3 separate regions of the Homo sapiens genome follow, and all the other regions are linked to region 1. The links are contacts of gene promoters, found by promoter capture Hi-C in blood cells and fetal thymus (Javierre and others, 2016). All regions are on one chromosome and are shown on one strand. Each heading gives the region's core, a stretch centred on a gene start or on the middle of the fragment in contact. The rest is flanking DNA. Distances are from core to core; before and after follow the strand shown.

Region 1 (3,405 bases), core at 316-2,815:
AATTATCTCCACTTTACAGATAAGTAAACTGTGGCTTGAATAGGTTAACTAATTTCTCCCAGATCACATGGAGAAGAAGAAGCAGAGCTGGGATTCTGAGCCAGGTCTGATTGACCCAGAATTTGCACTCCTAATGACTATTCTCCTCTTACCTGCTCTCCTCTAAGAAGATTCAGCTTCAGCCAAACTTATCTCTTCTTCGGTCCCTCAGGTCTCAGTGCCTTCATCCAGTCAGTGCCGCATCTGAATTGCTTTTCTGTCCTGTTCACCTGTCTGAATTCTACCCTTCCTTCAAGGTTCAAGAGTAATTAGCTCTTCCATAATGTTGCTATGCCTTGGTATTTTTTCATGAGGATGGCTCTGTTCCTCACATGTGTTGTAATTTCAGTGCAAATCCAATATGTTAAGTATTACACAGTACGTGGTACACACAGACCCTTTCTCATAGTTGGTTCCCAAAAGAATGTGTGATTGCTTAATGGAGGACAGGGTGCTGGGATGGGCCAGACTGCCGTGAGAGCTGGGAAGAAAGAGAGAGTAGCCACTGGATAGAATGCAGTTTATAGGACCTCAAAGAGAATCCAAGAATCCTAATTCCCAGCATCACCAGATTTACAATCCTAGAAGCATCATCTTAGCATGGCCCGATTCTTTCCACAAACCCATCAGAATCTTTGCAAATGCTTCCTCCCCCTACATGCATAGAAAATAGATTTAGAGGGATTCTAGACAAGAAAGAAAATAGACATAGGGAGGGACATGGATCTGTATGGGGAAAGGGGAGGATTCTAGACCTCTTCTGTTGTTACTCAATCTTCTCTCCCATCTGTCTTTGCTCTTAGAAAATCAGCCCACACAGGACTAGGAGAGACGAGGGGAGAAGGAATAAGTGGGTTCCCAAAATGGGGTAGAATCTAGTCTGTTGTCATCCAGGGAGCATTAACAGGTATTGTTAAACACAAGATTTAAGAAAAGAGAGGATAAGATGGAGGGACAGCAATAAAGAAGGGAAGAAAATCTGGAGTGAGTGAGAGAAGCAGGCAGGAGAAGGGGGAAGATGGAGGAAGATGAGACTTAAAAAGGAACAGTAGAGGGTGGAAAGTGTCAGAGCAAGACCTGTTTGTGTTTTCTCCTAGGTGTGGGAAGAAGCTGTAGTATGTATGTGGGAGGCGGGGGAGATAACAGTGTATGTCTATATTCCGCTCTCCCTCCCACCCTCTGTTCTAAATTCCACCCAGCACATAAGCCAATACAGACAAAAGTCTTAATGTTAGATAAAATCAATGTTTCCCAAATCCCGTTCCCCTTGCATTAATGCCTGATGACTTCCCCCATGCCTTCCCTCCACCCCATGCTTGTCTCACGATAGGCTTTGTCGTGCTGATTTGTCCATGGGAAGGACAATGAGGCCATCACCTTCCTCCAGCCCACAGTGGCCAAGAGGACTTAGAGCCTCCCATCTCCCAGGTCACTCTTCTCCTGTAGCTCCATTCTTCTCCTGGCCTCTCTCAGACAAGGAACACATATGGGATTGGCCTTAAGGAAAGGGAAATTCCTTGGGGAGTAAAACTTAGGCTTAATTCATAAGATAAAGCCTGGCTCAGGCTGCTAAGGGCAAATGAGCAATGGGAGTTATTAAAAAGTATGTGAGATGTTGCATCAGATGCACATAATTATTGGGAGACTGTCTTGGGGCCAACATTTCAGAGTTACTGATCAAAGGACCAAGATGAAGAAGGATAAGAACCCTAAAGAGACGTGAATTCCCAGGGAGGTTTACAAGAACCAAATCCCTCAGCACCATGGGCAGTGCAAGGCCTCCACCCTCTCCTATCACCACTGTAGTTGGAAAAGTGAGTTATGTCCTAGGACACAGTCCAGGTCACCCCCTCTATAAACTCCAAAGCCTTTTTCATATGTACAGTCATTAAGGTACCATCTCTTATCCCAATCTCTGATCTGCTCTTCTCTCAGCCAAAGTGAACTCTCAATGTAAATTGGCTAAGTTCATCCTCAAGATATAATTCAACTACCATAAGCTTCACAATTATTAAATGATTTTAACCATTCAGTGGTTTTTAGTATATTCACAAACTTGTGTAACCATCACCACTACCTAATTCCAGAACATTTTCTTCGTTCTGAAAAGAAATCTCATATCCTTTAGCAGTCACTGCCCATTCTGTTCTCTCCTCAGTCTCTGGAAACCACTAATCTACTTTTTGTCTCTGGATTTGCCTGTTCTGGACATTTCCTAAAAATTGAATCATATAACACACATATGATGATATATGGCTTTTGTGTCCTGCTTCTTTCACTTATGTTTTTAAGTTTCATCTGTACTGTAGCATGTACCAGTACTAGTCATGTACCAGTCATTCCTTTTTATGACTGGATAATATTACATCATATGGATATACCACTTTTGTAAATCAGTCAGTCAGCTCTCGGACATTTGAGTTCTTTCCACTTTTTAGCTATTATGAATAAAGCTGCTAGGAATATTCATGTATAGGATTTTGTGTGGATGTATTCTTTCATTTTTCTTTGGTATATAGCTAGATGTGGAATTGCTGGATTTTATAGCAACTGTGCCTAATCTTTTGAGGAATAACCATCTTACTTAGAATAGTGAGAGTGAAGTGGCATCTCATAATTTTCGCATTTGTATTTATAAAGAATATGGTCTGTAGTTCTTTTCTTGTATCTTTGTCTGGCTTTGGTATCAAGATAATGCTGGCCTCATAGAATGTGTTAAAAAGTGTTCCCTTTGCTTCTGTTTTTTTTTTTTTTTTTTACAAGAACTTGCATAGTATTGGTGTTCATACTCCTTTAAATGTTTGGCAGAATTTACCACTAAAGCCATCTGGTACTGGACTTTTCTTGGTTGGGAGGTTTTTTAAACACTGATTCAACATTTACTTGTTATAGGTCTGTTGAGACTTTCTATTTCTTTTGAAATCAGTTTTGGTAATTTGTGTTTCCAGGAATTTTTCCATTTAATCTAAATTAGCCAATTTGTTGGCATATAGTGCTCATAGTACTCTCTTACAATCCTATTAATTTTTGTAAGGTTGGTAGTAATGTTTCTGATTTTATTTATTTGCCTCTTCTCTTTTTTTCTTAGTTTAGCTAAACATTTATAAATTTTGTTTATCTTTTCAAGAACTAACTTTGGTTACATTGATTGTATCTATTGTTTTTCTATTCTCTACTTCATTTATCTCTGCTCTAATCTGTATTGTTTTTTTCCTTCTGTTGGCTTTGGTTTTAGTTTGCTCTTCTTTTTTTAGTTCCTTAAAGTGTAAAGTTAGATAATTGATTTGAGACGTTTTTCCTTTTTTATGTAGGATTTTACAGCTATAAAATTCTAAGTATTGCTTTCACTGCACCCTGCGTATGTTG
Region 2 (2,939 bases), core at 356-2,855, 290 kb after region 1:
GGTGGGCATGTGAAGGGGGCTGTGTAAATCGACTGCCACCTGGTGGTCATCTTGCAGAAGTGGCAGTCACTGGCCACTGAGACACCCAGCACCATTTTCCCAGAAGGAAGATGCGAGCACCTGTTTGGCCTTAGGCCAAAGAGACAGAGGGAAATTTACTCTGTTCACATGGTTATATGTTTTCTAAAATTTGCAAAACAAAGATATTTTAAATTTTTTCTTTTCTTTTTGTTTTTTTGAGATGGAGTTTCACTCTTGTTGCCCAGGCTGGAGTGCAACAGTGTGATCTCAGCTCACTGCAACCCCCGCCTTCTGGGTTCAAGTGATTCTCCTGCCTCAGCGTCCTGAGTAGCTGGGATTACAGGCACCCGCCACCACGCCCAGCTAAATTTTTGTATTTTTAGTAGAGACGGGGTTTCGCCATGTTGGCCAGGCTGGTCTCGAACTCCTGACCTCAGGTGATCCACCCACCTCAGCCTCCCAAATTGCTGGGATTACAGGCCGTGAGCCACTGCGCCTGGTCAAATTTTTTCTTAAGAGAGCCACTAAGATTAGATAAGCTTCAGGCCCCCCAAAACCAGCATCTACCCTGAAGAGCTGAGGCTTGGAGTCAGGTGGCCTTTCTAGAGCGTAAAGAGTCACAGTTCTTTATCAGGACAAGAGGATTATTCCAGGGACTCCAGTGGGAGGAACTATGAAACTCAGTACAAACAGCACATGCTTCCTTGCTTTGACCTTGCCATTCAAAGTGTGGTCTTTGGATACATCGACCAACTGTCCTGGTTTCCCTGGATGCAGAACTTTCAGTGCCAAAACTAGGAAAGTCGTGGGCATACTCGGGTGGGTTCGTTATCCCAACTGCAGATTCGCAGCACTGGCATCAACCTGGAAGGTTGCTAGAAATGCAGACCCAGACCTACTGAGTCACACTGCATTTTCCAAGATCTGCAGCAAATTCATGTGCATATTAAAGATCGAGTTGCTGTGGCTTCCCCAGGAAGAGAGGGGCCCACACTGGCCCTGAAATGTATGCCTTCAAGGGGTTTGGTGGGCTGCAAAACCCCACAGAGTGATTGCAACTGGTCTTGAATTCCAACAATAAAAGGCCAGCTTCTTGCTCCAGGCCTAGCTGGCCCTTTTTTCCCTGGTCACAGTGACATAGGCCTCCCAGGGCATAAAGTACTTAGTTCTCTTCCTGAACTGGATTCTTCCTGGGGGCAAGCCCAGGTTTGGTGAAGAAAAGAGTGGGTAGCTAAATGAAAATAGTTTGTAGGCTGGGCACGGTGGCTTACGCCTGTAAATCCTAGCACTTTGGGAGGCTGAGGTGGGTGGATCACTTGAGGTCAGGAATTCGAGACCAGCCTGACCAACATGGTGAAACCCGGTCTCTACTAAAAATACAAAAATTAGCTGGGCATGGGGGCGAGCGCCTGTAATCCCAGCTACTCAAGAGGCTGAGGCAGGAGAATCACTTGAACCCAGGAGGTGGAGGTTGCAGTGAGCCGAGATTGCGCCGCTGCACTCCATCTTGGGTGACAGAGCGAGATTCCATCTAACCGCTGCACTCCAGCTTGGGTGACACAGCAAGATTCTATCTAAAAAAAAACGAAAGGCAAGAGGAAAGGAAAATAGTAGCTTGTATGTTGTTAGGTAAGGTTTTTTTTTTTTTTTTTTTTTTTTTATAGAGAGTCTCAGCTCTGTCACCCAGGCTGGAGTGCAGTGCCACAATCATAGCCCACTGCAGCCTCGACTTCCAGGGCTCAAGCGATCCTCCCACCTCAGCCTCCCGAGTAGTTGGGACTACAGGCACATACTACCACGCCTGGCTAATTTTTTGATTTTTAATAGAGACAAGGTCTCTCTGTATTGCTCAGGCTGCTCTCAAACTCCTGGGCTCAATCGATCCTTCCACCTCGGCCTCCCAAAGTGCTGGATTACAGGCATGAGTCATGGCAGCCAGCCTCAGGTGAGATTTAATTGAAGGACACTGTTGCTCTAAAGCGTAGTCCGAAATTACCATCACTCTATTTATTGAGTAGTTACCATATACCGGGCACTGTTTTAAACACTTAGCAGGTATGAACCCACTGGTGCCTCACTACAAACCCTCTGCTAGGTGCTATGATTATCCCCACTTTACAAATGAAGCTGAGGCCCAGAGGACTGTAAAAGAGAACTATCTGTCAGTGAGGCACAGAGGACAGCCAGACCGGAAATGCTCACGATGTGAAGTGAATGGTGAGGTAGGGGATTATTTCCATTCACCCACAGCTCTCTCCCTATCTGTGTATCTGGGGAAGGCCTCAAAGGAAAGCTGGGCCTGGGAGAGAGGGAGGGCTGGGTATGCACAGGCAGTGAAGGGAAGGCTGAGATGACAGCATCCTCATTTGTCCTAACTTGGCTTTATTTATCCATGCTGTTCACTGGAAAACTCTGAGAGCTGTGGGCCAAGCACCAGGCCGGGTGTGGGGAGGCAGAGCTAAAAGTCCTAGTTCCTGCCCTCAAAAAGGCCCCTGTAGCCAGACTCAGACAGGTAAACAGAGTTACAACACAGACATAGCCCTGAAAGAGATAAGCATAGGAAGGGAGGGAGCAGGTCTGGGCACTCACCCGATCTTACCGAGTGTGTGCTGGGGGCTGAAAAGCTTTTCCACCTGAACTGATTCTTGACAGTTCCTTGAAGCCTAGGAAGGGGGTCTGAAGGGGAGCTCTCAGGAGAGGGGCACAAGCCCAACAGCCGGAAGGAAAGAGAAGGTACTCTGACTCCCCCCCCCCTTTTTTTTTTTTTTTGAGATGGAGTCTTGCTCTGTCGCCCCAACTGGAATGCAGTGGCACGATCTCAGTTCACTGCAACCTCCGCCTCCTGGGTTCAAGCAATTCTCTTGGCTCAGCCTTCCAAGTAGCGAGTAGCTAGGATTGTAGGTGCCAACCACCATGCC
Region 3 (3,388 bases), core at 498-2,997, 310 kb before region 1:
CGCCCGGCTAATTTTTTGTATTTTTGGTAGAGACAGGGTTTCACCATGCTGGCCAGGCTGGTCGAGAACTCCTGACCTCATGATCTGCCCACCTTGGCCTCCCAAAGTGCTGGGATTACAGCTGTGAGCTACCGCGCCCGGCCTACAAAAAAACTTTTTAAAAATTAGCTAATACCTGTAGTCCTAGCTGCTCAGGAGGATCACTTGAGCCCATGAGCTCGAGGTTACAGTGAGCTATGATTGTACCACTGTACTCCCGCCTGGACAACAATGTGAGACCCTGCCTTAAAACAAAAAAAAAAACCTGTACTTTTGTAAGTTAAAAAAAAATCAACAAGCTTCATGGTAGATATTCCTCTGATCATAAGTAAATGTTTTAGCTCCATATACATTTTAATAGTTTGTGTAGGGAGAAAGGTATAGTATCAATAATAAGAATGAAAAGCCTTATAAGCTTGTTTGTTGGATCATGTTCCCATAATAGAACTCCTCTGATAAAATATCTTAACTTTTAGCAGATATTTGGAGGAAATCTCAAATAATGAATGGGTTTAATATTTTAGGTGGATGCCAACATAAAATGCCAGACCAGTTCACGTGAGAATATCTTGCCGTCAGAACAGATGGGATTCCTCATTTCAGAAATGGGGCCTGCTAGCAAGCCTAGTGAAGACACAGGTTTAGCCACTCCAGCCAGATACAGAGAGCACAGAAGCAACTCACAACAAGGAAAGTCCCCTGGTAAGGATTATTGTGCTCTAGAATGCCAGAAGTAGAATCACGCTGTAGAATTAATATATGAATGACATTTTTTCTGGGTCTCCATTTATTATTCATAATTGTATTAGACCTGTCACATTGCTGTTTTTACATAGCTGTAATTTTAACTCTATATTTGTTCTTAATTATTGTTGTGAAGTATGTAATAGTTATTTTCTTAATATTGCATATAATGATTTGGGCTTTGAAAATATAGAACATATTAAGAATAAGCAAAGGAATTTAGATTATTTAACTTGGAGAAGGCAAGGATGAAGGATGATTTAATAAGTATCCTCAGATGCCAGACTTCGAAATTGTAGTTGTACTTACTCTGTTATTAACAGACTCTAGGACAAGAGGGCATGCATTTATATTGTGACAAGAGAAAATCAGATGGAAATTTAGGATATTATCCTGAGCGCATTTTAAAGATACTATAAAGTATGACCCTATACCAATGAATGGTTTGTTATTCTTGTGGTTTGTAAGAACCCAGAATAAGTGATTGTTTTAGGCACATACAGTTGATTCTAATAAGACAAAATCATATTTTTTGAAGAAATAGTAACATCTAATAAAACATGTGTCTCATATCATCCAAAAATCAAGTTACCAAAGTCTGCAGTGGACAATTTTAATATTCTAGAATTATGTTCATGTCAGGGGCATGCAGTGCAGGCAGAATGACAGTGTAGGTTAAAATGACAGACCATCATTTTAACCTACAATAATTTGAAAAATGTTGAGAACTTCTGTGAGAATTTTTCCAAAAAGTAAATTAATAGTGATATGATCATGGTGTAGCTCAGACTCATAGGGTTCTTTCTGCAAAATGTCTTTTAGGCTAAAAACTGTCTATCATTTATTCACTAAATTTAGCTTGCACACTTTTAGTTGATTATATTTTCCAATCCATAATTAAAGACTAAAGATTTCTTACCACTGAAGGTGTTTAACACAATGGCATGAGCCTTGAAGGCAATTTAGATGAGAGAAAGGCAGGAACTAACATTTACCGTATCCATTTTTGTGCCATAGGACAAATCTGTTGGAAGTGGCATTGTCATTTTAAACATCAGGAAATTTAGGCTTAGAGTAAGTAACTTGTTCAAAGTCACATATAAATTTGTTTTATTTTTTCATTTTTTAGAGACAGAGTCTTTCTCTGTTGCCCGGGCTAGAATGCAGTGGCGCATCTTGGCTCACTGCAGCCTCCACCTCATAGATTCCAGCAATTCTCATGGCTCAGCCTCCCGAGTAGCTGGGACTACAGGTGCGTGGCACCACACCCGGCTAATTTTTGTATTTTTAGTAGAGATGGGGTTTCACCATGTTGGCCAGGCTGGTCTTGAACTCCTGGCCTCAAGTGATCCACCCACCTCGGCCTCCTAAAGTGCTGGGATTACAGGCATGAGCCACCATGCCTGGCCCTTTTTTCTTTTCTTTCCTTTTCCTTTTCTTTATTATTATTATTATTTTTTTTTTCTGAGACAGAGTCTTGCTCTGTTGCCCGGGCTGTAGTGCAATGGCGTGATCTTGGCTCACTGCAACTTCCACCTCCCAGGTTTAAGTGATTCTCCTGCCTCAGCCTCCTGAGTAGCTGGGATTACAGGCACACTCCACCACGACTAGCTAATTTTTGTATTTTTAGCAGAGGCAAGGTTTCCGCCATGTTGGCCAGGCTGGTCTTGAACTCCTGACCTCAGGTGATCTGCCTGCCTCGGCCTCCCACAGTGCTGGGATTGCAGGCATGAGCCACTGCACCCAGCTGCCTTTTTTCATTTTTTATAGAGATGGGGTCTCACTATGTTGCCCAGGCTGGTCTTGCACTCCTAGGCTCAAGCAGTCCTCCTGCCTTGACCTCTCAAAGTGCTGGGATTATGAGCATGAGCCACCATGCATGGCCAGTCACATATAAACTAATATTGCTAATATCCTACCCTAAGTTGTCTGCCTGTAGAGCACATATTCTTTCCTTTTAATTTTTTATTGTGTTGAAGAACATGTAACATAAAATTTATCATTTTAACCATTTTTATTTTTAATTTATAATTTAAATATAATTGTACATATTTATGAGGTACAATGTGATTTTTTGACACATGTATATGTAGTGTAATGATCAAATTGAGATAATTACCATATCCATCACTCTAAACATTTATCATTTCTTTGTGGTGATAACACTCTAAACCTTTTCTTCTAGCTGTCTTGAAATATACACTACATTGTTATTTGCTACAATTATGCTACTGTGTAATAGAATACCAAAGCTTATTCTTCCTATCTAACTACAACTTTTGACCAACTTCTCCCAATATCCCCACTTTCCTACTTTCCCCAGCCTCTGGTATTTACTATTCTACTTTCTTCTATGAAATTAACTTTTTTAGCTTCCATATATGAGTAAGATCATGTAGTATTTGTCTTTCTGTGCCTGGCTTATTTCACTTAACATAATGTTCTCCAGGTTCACCTATGTTGCCAAAAATGACAAGATTTCATTCTGTTTTATGGCTGAATAGTATTCCATTGTATATTTATGTACGTACGTGTGTGTGTGTGTGTGTGTGTGTGTGTATATACACACACACATATATATATATACACACACACATATATATAT

Evidence for each region. Contacts are between HindIII fragments. The CHiCAGO score rates a contact against its expected background, and 5 or more counts as called.
Region 2: a fragment that was not itself captured here is called in contact with the fragment with the promoter of OR4D1 in region 1 in 1 of 17 cell types (non-activated CD4 T cells); the score reaches 5.3 in non-activated CD4 T cells.
Region 3: a contact is called between a fragment that was not itself captured here and the fragment with the promoter of OR4D1 in region 1, in 2 of 17 cell types (M1 macrophages and M0 macrophages). The highest score is 5.6, in M1 macrophages.

What each region holds. Positions count from the first base shown.
Region 1 is chr17:58,146,544-58,149,948 of GRCh38, reverse strand. It overlaps OR4D1 (olfactory receptor family 4 subfamily D member 1), which reads right to left and starts at 1,565. Exons shown (of 4, transcript NM_001386095.1): 1 at 1,365-1,565; 2 at 153-520. The HindIII fragment of the contact is 12,158 bases long and covers 1-2,041 here.
Region 2 is chr17:57,855,207-57,858,145 of GRCh38, reverse strand. No RefSeq gene overlaps it. Among named protein-coding and RNA genes, the nearest start is that of MRPS23, 6.6 kb to the right of the region's middle. The HindIII fragment of the contact is 2,085 bases long and covers 563-2,647 here.
Region 3 is chr17:58,456,121-58,459,508 of GRCh38, reverse strand. It overlaps HSF5 (heat shock transcription factor 5), which reads left to right. Exons shown (of 6, transcript NM_001080439.3): 5 at 564-741. Among named protein-coding and RNA genes, the nearest start is that of HSF5, 31 kb to the left of the region's middle. The HindIII fragment of the contact is 2,581 bases long and covers 457-3,037 here.